Regions from separate parts of the Homo sapiens genome. Here region 2 is linked to region 1. Evidence: promoter capture Hi-C in human tissues and cell types (Jung and others, 2019). All regions are on one chromosome and are shown on one strand. The core of a region is centred on a gene start or on the middle of the fragment in contact, and the rest is flanking DNA. Distances in the headings are between cores, read along the strand shown. Region 1 holds the start of AGPS (alkylglycerone phosphate synthase). Region 2 overlaps LOC124906098 (a long non-coding RNA gene).

Region 1 (3,534 bases), core at 655-3,154:
GTAACGGTGTAGTGGAAATTGAAATCCAGGTCTATGTTCCCAGCCATTATACTGCCAAAATGCTCAACTGTCTTCAATTTGCTCCCAGTGTGACCTTTATCAAAGGTAAATCTAATCATGTATTGCCCCACGTAAAATCCTGTAAACAAGATTCACCTCTCCAGTCTTCGTCCCCTGTCATTCTCACCCTCTCCTACTACACTTGAGTCTCAGCAGTTCCCTAATTTGTCTCTCACTTCTTTACCTGTGAACATACTGTTTGTATGCCAAGAACAATTTCCCCCTTTGGCAAACTATTAGTAATGCAAACATCCAAAATTTACTCAGACAATCTTTACTTTGGAACATCTTTGCACTAACAAACACAAACCCAAAACTGGGTTAAATGACCAGGTGGTATAGTTCCCAGTTAAGTTTCTTATAACGCTGTATTATAATTTTACCTACTAAGCTATTCCTTCCTTAAGAGTAAATACCGTATTTTTAAATTTCTGTATTGCTGGTACAGTGTGTATTTTGTAAAGACTCATGTATGTTGAATTAATTCATCAGAAGCAAGTATAGCTTAGGAACTTGGCCATGAAGTCAATTTGATGTGCTTTCAAATTCTAACCTGTCACACAGCATATCTGCTAAGACTCCAGCAGACTTAATTTATTCATCTGTAAAATGGGAGAAAACCGCACATACCTCATAGCTTGGGAAGAAACAAAGGATTTAGCACACTTTGGCACACTTAAAAGTACACTTTAAACATTAGCTACTTATTTTTTTCACTCTCGGTTTATCCATTTATCCACGGTGACAAAGCCACACGTCAGAAAGTAGCTTCTCCTAATAGCCTTCATCAGAGATTGAGGAGATCGAGACCATCCTGGCTAACACGGTGAAACCCTGTCTCTACTAAAAATACAAAAAAAAAAAAAAAGATTTCTCCAAAAACATCGAAAGTCAAGATCTCTTACAAACATCCCTCATCGGTTAGACTCTTGTCTTTTAGCTTCTGGTTACACAGAGCTCAGTAGCTATACCACCACACCTTAAACCACTAGCTAGTGTTTGCAGTTTATGGCTTCTTACCATTCATCGGTTTCCTCCCTCAAAGTCAATACATCTTGATCCTAAGCAAGTGGAACTTACCCCACAGAAACCAGTCAGCACCTTTTTCCAGGGCACCACCAGTTTCCCCCACAGCAGGCTTTCGCGAATGAGAGAGATTCCTATGATCTATCATCTAGTACAAATTTATATCTCCTCGGAGAAAAATAGAACCTCTGCTACCCATTCCAAGACCTCAGCACCAAAAGTATTAATTCAAGATAAAAAATGAATTCCTGGCACTAAAAGCTCAGGAAAAAGGAATCCTTTAAACCCTTCTCCAACGAGAGTTCTTCAAGCCTGTTACCCTCACATAGTGACCAAAATCCACCATCCCATCCCGCCCCCTTCCTGACAGAATCCAGGGTCTAGTCCACTCTCTCGAAAGAGAGGTGGGTCCCTACTTTCAGGGACCGGGATGCCTTCCGCCCACCCGTGTCACTTCCCTTCCCACCTCGCCTGTGCCCTCCTGCAGCACAGGCCCGGCCTGGTCCCTCGACGCTAACTCCTTCCACATACCGCTACTCACCGCTTCTTTGGGATGGTGCCCGACTCCTGCGCGGCGGGAGTGGCCGTGGGCGCTGCCGTGGCCGCCGACGCGGCTCTCCGCGCTTTGCACTCATTGGTACTCAGAGCCTCCCGGGGCCGGCCCAGCAGATGGCCAGAGAGAACCCGCAGCCTCCGCCCGGCGCGGTCCGGGTCCGGGTCCCGGTCCCGGTCCGCTGCAGACCCGTAGCTCGCGCCCGCGCCCAAGCCAGTCCCACCCGCTGCAGCCGCCGCCTCCGCCATGGCTACCGCCTTGTGCTGCCGCCCGGAACCGCTGGGCGCGGGTGAAAGGTCACTCAGAGCGGCGCCCGGCGCGACCATTCGCTGCGGCGCATCCCGGCAGCCACCGCGGCGACTTGGCGGCGGGTGCCATGCGTCTGGAGCTTCACATTCTCTGCCCCCCACCCACCGCGCCGGCGCTCCCTTGTCACGCCTCGGGAAGCGCGCACCTGCCAAGCAGGTGAGTTCGAGCTGACTCCCGGTTGGCCCAGCCCGGTCCAGCTGGACCGAGAGCCAAACCACGTCCGCCCTCGAGGTGTCCTAGAACCCTGGGTGGTGTCCTCGGGTGTGGCCTGGGGGCTTTCGAGGGCAGATGCCTTGGAGCAGGAGAAATGGGCAGTGCTACTGGACCTGATGGATCCAGCGGCATCCTTTTCCTGAAAGAGATTCTAATGTTCCACCTGTGCTCTTCCTCCCTGCGGGGTCACCAAAGTAACTCAAAGCTGACCATCATTGCCTCTAACCATTAGAGCAAATAGCTCTATCATTTTCTTATTTCTCACCACCTATTTCGTGCCTGGCACTGTGTTTAATGCTAGATCACAAGTAAGTACAGAAACTGAGTTGCAACTTAAGTTCTCATTTCATTCATTACTGGATCCTAACCCCTTCCTAACTTTAATAGAGATAAAGTTTCTTATTGCTACAGACAAAAATTACCCAAGAGCTGTGAAGACATCTCAGTTATTTACAGATTGAATTCATTTCTGGAAGATAGCACGTGAAAAGTGCTCCTCACCTGTTTCAGCCGGTGTCTTGCATAAGAATTAGCTTAGACAAAAACTCACATACACTGGCCATTGTCATTCTCCATCCTGTCACCACTTTCACATCATGCTTTCCTAACAAGAAAAATATTGGCAGAGGAATCTGAAGAACACCACATCCATGGGACTAGAGACTAACAATTGCTCTCTTGGGTGTTGCCAGCTTCTAAAATTGAGATTATGCCTTTAGAGTGAACTTCCAAAGAGGCCCAGACTGGTTAAAAACTCTCAATTAAGGGCTAAGCAAATTGCTGTTGGAGGGCCAGCTCTAGTCTGTGGCCTGTTTTTACACAGCCCTCATGCTAATGGTTTTTGTATTTGAGAAGGGTTGTTAAAAGAAAACAAGAAATTTTTTAAAAGAATATGCAACAGAGACCTTATGTGGTCCCAGAAGCCCCAAAATATGTATTACCTGGCCTTTACAGGAGGTCCGAATGTCTTCTGAAATTTATATACGAAGAGATACCAAACCATTGAAAACAGTCCAAATGTCTAGCAACAGAGAAATGGTTAGTCAATATGTTAAAATACTTTTGCAGCTATTAAAATAATTTAGTACAGTTGTAGAAACAAGAAAGAATTAGGAATTTGTTAAATATAAAAAATGGCCATAACCTAGGCATCTTATACGTATCTATTTAATCAATCTTTGCAGTAACACAATGACACAGTTTTATTATCCTTATTTTATAGATGAAGGCTCAAGGAGAGTAAGAAGCTTTTCTTAAATAGCTATATTTTATCTCAAATATCATATACTTCATGTTATTGTCCTTATTCCACCATTAGAGTTTGGGGCCATTAACATTTTACGTTAAAATTACTTACGTAGGCTTGGGGTTTT
Region 2 (3,866 bases), core at 1,205-3,704, 200 kb before region 1:
GAATAAAGTCTTTCTTGCCTGTTTAAATTTTGGGGGTGCCACTTTTGCTTTAACGTCAAAAATGTAAATAAACTCAACTAAAATGTATTGTGTCCCTATAAACCCCGGTTGTTTTGCAGCATGAAAAGATCCATGATTAAACTGCAAAAGGCAAAATGCCTCTTGGTTTGTGCATCTTCCTGGGGGATCATGGGACAGTGAGTTACAGTTGACACAGGAAGGAGGGATGTCACCACTATCGTAACTGAAACATTGTCAGGGAGCAGCAAGAGGCTGGCTGGAGCTGGGCTGGGACAGAGCACCTGCCTCACCCCAGGCACAACTCTAAGCACTTTGCAAATAATTCCTCATTTAATTCTTACAACAACCTTATGAAACAGATTTTATTAGTAGCCCCATGTTTTCAGGTAAGGTACACCTCTGTCACCACAGACATTTGGTAAGCATAGAACAACTGGCACTTTGGTTCCAGGATTTGTGTTTTAACCACTAGCTTATACTTCTAGATTCTGCAGCTAGAACCAAAGAGCACAAAACCCCAAGGCGTGGTAGCGGGCCCACTGAGACCTGATCAGGTAACCAGGTACATGTCAGAGAAGTCTCTATGTCTCTACCAGAGAGCAGTTTCCTATTTCAGGACTAAAGCAGCCCACAACAGGGCCACCACAGCATCTACCTGTGATGTCCCCTGTCTCACAGAATAGGACAATTCTGCATCTCACCAATTCCTAAGGTCAGAGGGGGTTTCTTCATAAAAGGCTATGTAGGTTCTTCCTATAAATCTGCCTTCACATGACCACAAGGCTGGCAGTTCTAGGAAAAAAGCCTGTTTTTCTGCAAAGGGTGAACAAAGGTGGCAGTGTCTGAGAACAATTGAACAGTATCAAAGCTGCTTCCTCCAGGCAGTTCTGAGGTGACCCTGGCTGATCTCTGCAGTACGTGCTGAAACTGAAATAGCCTTGACTACCATCAAGGGCAAACTAGATTCTGCACTCAGTATGCTGAGTACCTTTTCCCCTTGCCACTTGCTCCCTTACAACTTACTTTCTTCCCTTGCTGCTTCAAAAAGTGTGGGAGAAGCCCTTTGATAGAGCAAGCTGATGCTTGCACAAAGAGAAGTAAAATTGCTTTTGCACCTCAACTACACAAAAACTAATCCCTTTACTGGGTCCCCAAGGCCCCCAGTGTAGCCCCTGGATGTCTCTGCCTGGATGGCTGTAGGCTGGGGCACCAGGTTCACCATTTCATTCTTTGAACCTTCCTTTTTCCATCTGTGAAAAGAGAATCTCAATATTTTGCCTAGTACTCTCCAGAGCTGTTATGAGGCTCAAATGAGATAATGTATGTAAAGCACTTTATAAACTGTAAAATGCTTTACAAATGTAAGGGATTATTATAAACCACAATACACTGATGTTTTATGCTTTTATAAAACTACTGGCTGGAACTGCTGTAAGGGGAATCCCTCTGGTGATTTTTATTTTGGAAACAGGAGGACTTGGGTTTGCCTCCTTGCCAGGAATTGGATTCCTGGCAGCAGCTGTTTATTCCATTTCACTCCGCAACACACATATGGCCACAGCACGCCTCCTGCAGAGCTGACAATATGTACTACTGTGTTTGAGCACATCCACGGAAAGCATCCTTTCTCCACCCTCACTATTTCTAACTTGCCAAGTCTAACACCTAGGAAATACAGACTTTCAAATCGCATTTCACCACAGCAACATTTGTTTTCTTAGATGAGGTTTTTCCTCCTTAGCAACCAGAATTTTGCAGTCAAACTTTCACCACGAAAACAGTTTTCTCTTGAGCAGATTGAAAAAATTGGATGCTGCTTTATTCAACCTTTGCCATGGTTAAAATGAAAATGATATTAATATTTGTCCTGAGACCGGGCTTGGACCAGCTGAAAAGGATTAAAGTACTAACACGTTCTTTTTTCCTTGTACCTGCAGTGCACAGATAGACTGGACCAGCGCTGGGTGACGGTGCTCAATCTTTCTGCTGCAATGGAATGGAGTGCACTGACGCTCTGCACAAATATCTGCACAGGGCAGTGTTATAGATAACCACTCACTGCTCCCTGAGGGGCTTGAGATCATTCGATGTCTAAGAACTACTACTGGCTTGTAAATGTCAAGAGAAATTATGAACATTTGTAGAAAAGTAACTGTTTGACTAATTTCCTGTTCCATGGAGCAAACACACTGCCCCATGTATTTAGAATCTGGTGCTGACAGCCAGGCCATGGCAAGCTTCAAGGTTATAGGATCATAAATGGGATTAGATAAGCCAGACAGTGCGGCTCAGACTCCAGCACTTTAAAAATATTATTAAAACCCCAGGAAAGGCAAACAATTTTGAAGGGAAAGTAAGATATAACAGACTCCCACCAAGAGAGAAAAGAATCTTGGATATGATACTGGAACTTGGTAACCCCTTCCCCCACCCACCCCCCGCTGCCCCCGCCAGAGCACTTCCAGAGTGTATGTTAGTTAGCATCAATCAACATTTTAGGACATAAGACATAATGCAACAAGTCATGCTTTGTAGCTCAGACAGATTTTTCTATTTGATTTGATCCATGACGAAAAAAAAAAATTTTAAGGAAAGAACAAAGAAAACTTACTGAGAAAACCAAAATCGACAATAAGAAGTCGCAGTTCCAGAGAGCAGAATGCAGTGCCCCACCTGGAAGCCTTTGTGTTTTAAATTATCTGTTTCTTTTTAATTGACCAGATTAATTATTTCCACCTTGCTACTTGGCAGGTAGGGTCACTATTCCTTTTTACAGCATTAATGAACTCATTCACTTTTTTTTCCATGTAATTAAGACTATGAGTTGCAGATCACATTCTTAAATCGGCTTAGTGTACAGCCAATTCAGTCTTTATTAAACAAAATATATGACATCAGGTATTTCTCACTGAAAAAGAGTGTTGAGTTTCTACTGAGTTTTCCTCCAGTTGAGAGAGGAGAGTGGTGACTTTGTTCTTTTTATTTTTTGGAGAAGAAACACAGACCTTGTAAAGGTTGTAGCCTCCAGGGTGGTGTTTCATTCTTAATAGACTCAAAGTCTGGAGATTTAAAGGGCAGCTGATGGATTCATGTTCAGGTATTTCTATTGCCACCAAAATTCTGACCAGGTCCTTTCATGAGCTATTTGAAAAGAAATAACTTTGGGTATGCTGTTAAGTTAGTTATGTGAAATATATTGCCCTCTTCTGTTAGCTTTATTTCTAGGCCATTTAGGAAGCCCTAGGAATATTAAGAGTTTCTCAGTACATTGACTACAGTAGCCGAACACAGTACAGAAGGCCGTTTGCGGTGTCTACAGTCCTCCAGAGAGCAAACTTTAAGGCAATGCAAACTATCTCCCAAAGCATTTGGTTTCATTCAAGACTTCTGGATCTCAAGTTGATTCCCAGAGGAACTCAATTTGGAAGTAAAGGGTAAGGTGCTTTAATCTTTCCAGGACCCAAATGAGATTTCCTCCATTAAATTGAGTCTGGTGGAGCACCTGATCGAGAGAGAAACTGATGGGCAGACATCAAGAAATTGATGAACAGACATCTTAATGCTGGTCCTCTTTGCCACTAGCAAAAGACAAGCAACATACATTTAAAATATTAGGAATACCAGTGCATTGTTTTTACATATTAAAAGCTTGTGAGAAATTCATTGCATTGTCTGAATACAATGGGATTGGAATCAAAGGTACAGCAACTGATGTTTTTCCATTTATTACTCCACTTCTTAGTAGAAATGGAATCTTCTAGTTACAGGTAATAACTCTGTGACAAAAATACTCAAGTATGTAACATAACTTAGTTCCTAATTTTTTAAATGGAACCTATATTTGG

What was found. Contacts are between HindIII fragments. The study calls those that stand out against the background at their distance.
Region 2: a contact is called between a fragment that was not itself captured here and the fragment with the promoter of AGPS in region 1, in 1 of the 25 tissues and cell types used here (hippocampus).

What each region holds. Positions count from the first base shown.
Region 1 is chr2:177,391,143-177,394,676 of GRCh38, reverse strand. AGPS (alkylglycerone phosphate synthase) reads right to left here and starts at 1,904. Exons shown (of 20, transcript NM_003659.4): 1 at 1,628-1,904. The coding sequence starts at 1,887. It overlaps LOC100130691 (Putative uncharacterized protein FLJ44553), which reads left to right and starts at 1,986. Exons shown (of 9, transcript NR_026966.1): 1 at 1,986-2,104. RefSeq lists silencers at 182-476, 1,685-1,904. The HindIII fragment of the contact is 5,797 bases long and covers 1-3,534 here.
Region 2 is chr2:177,596,226-177,600,091 of GRCh38, reverse strand. It overlaps LOC124906098 (a long non-coding RNA gene), which reads left to right. Exons shown (of 3, transcript XR_007087317.1): 3 at 1,959-3,684. Among named protein-coding and RNA genes, the nearest start is that of IFT70A-AS1, 4.9 kb to the left of the region's middle. The HindIII fragment of the contact is 5,513 bases long and covers 1-3,866 here.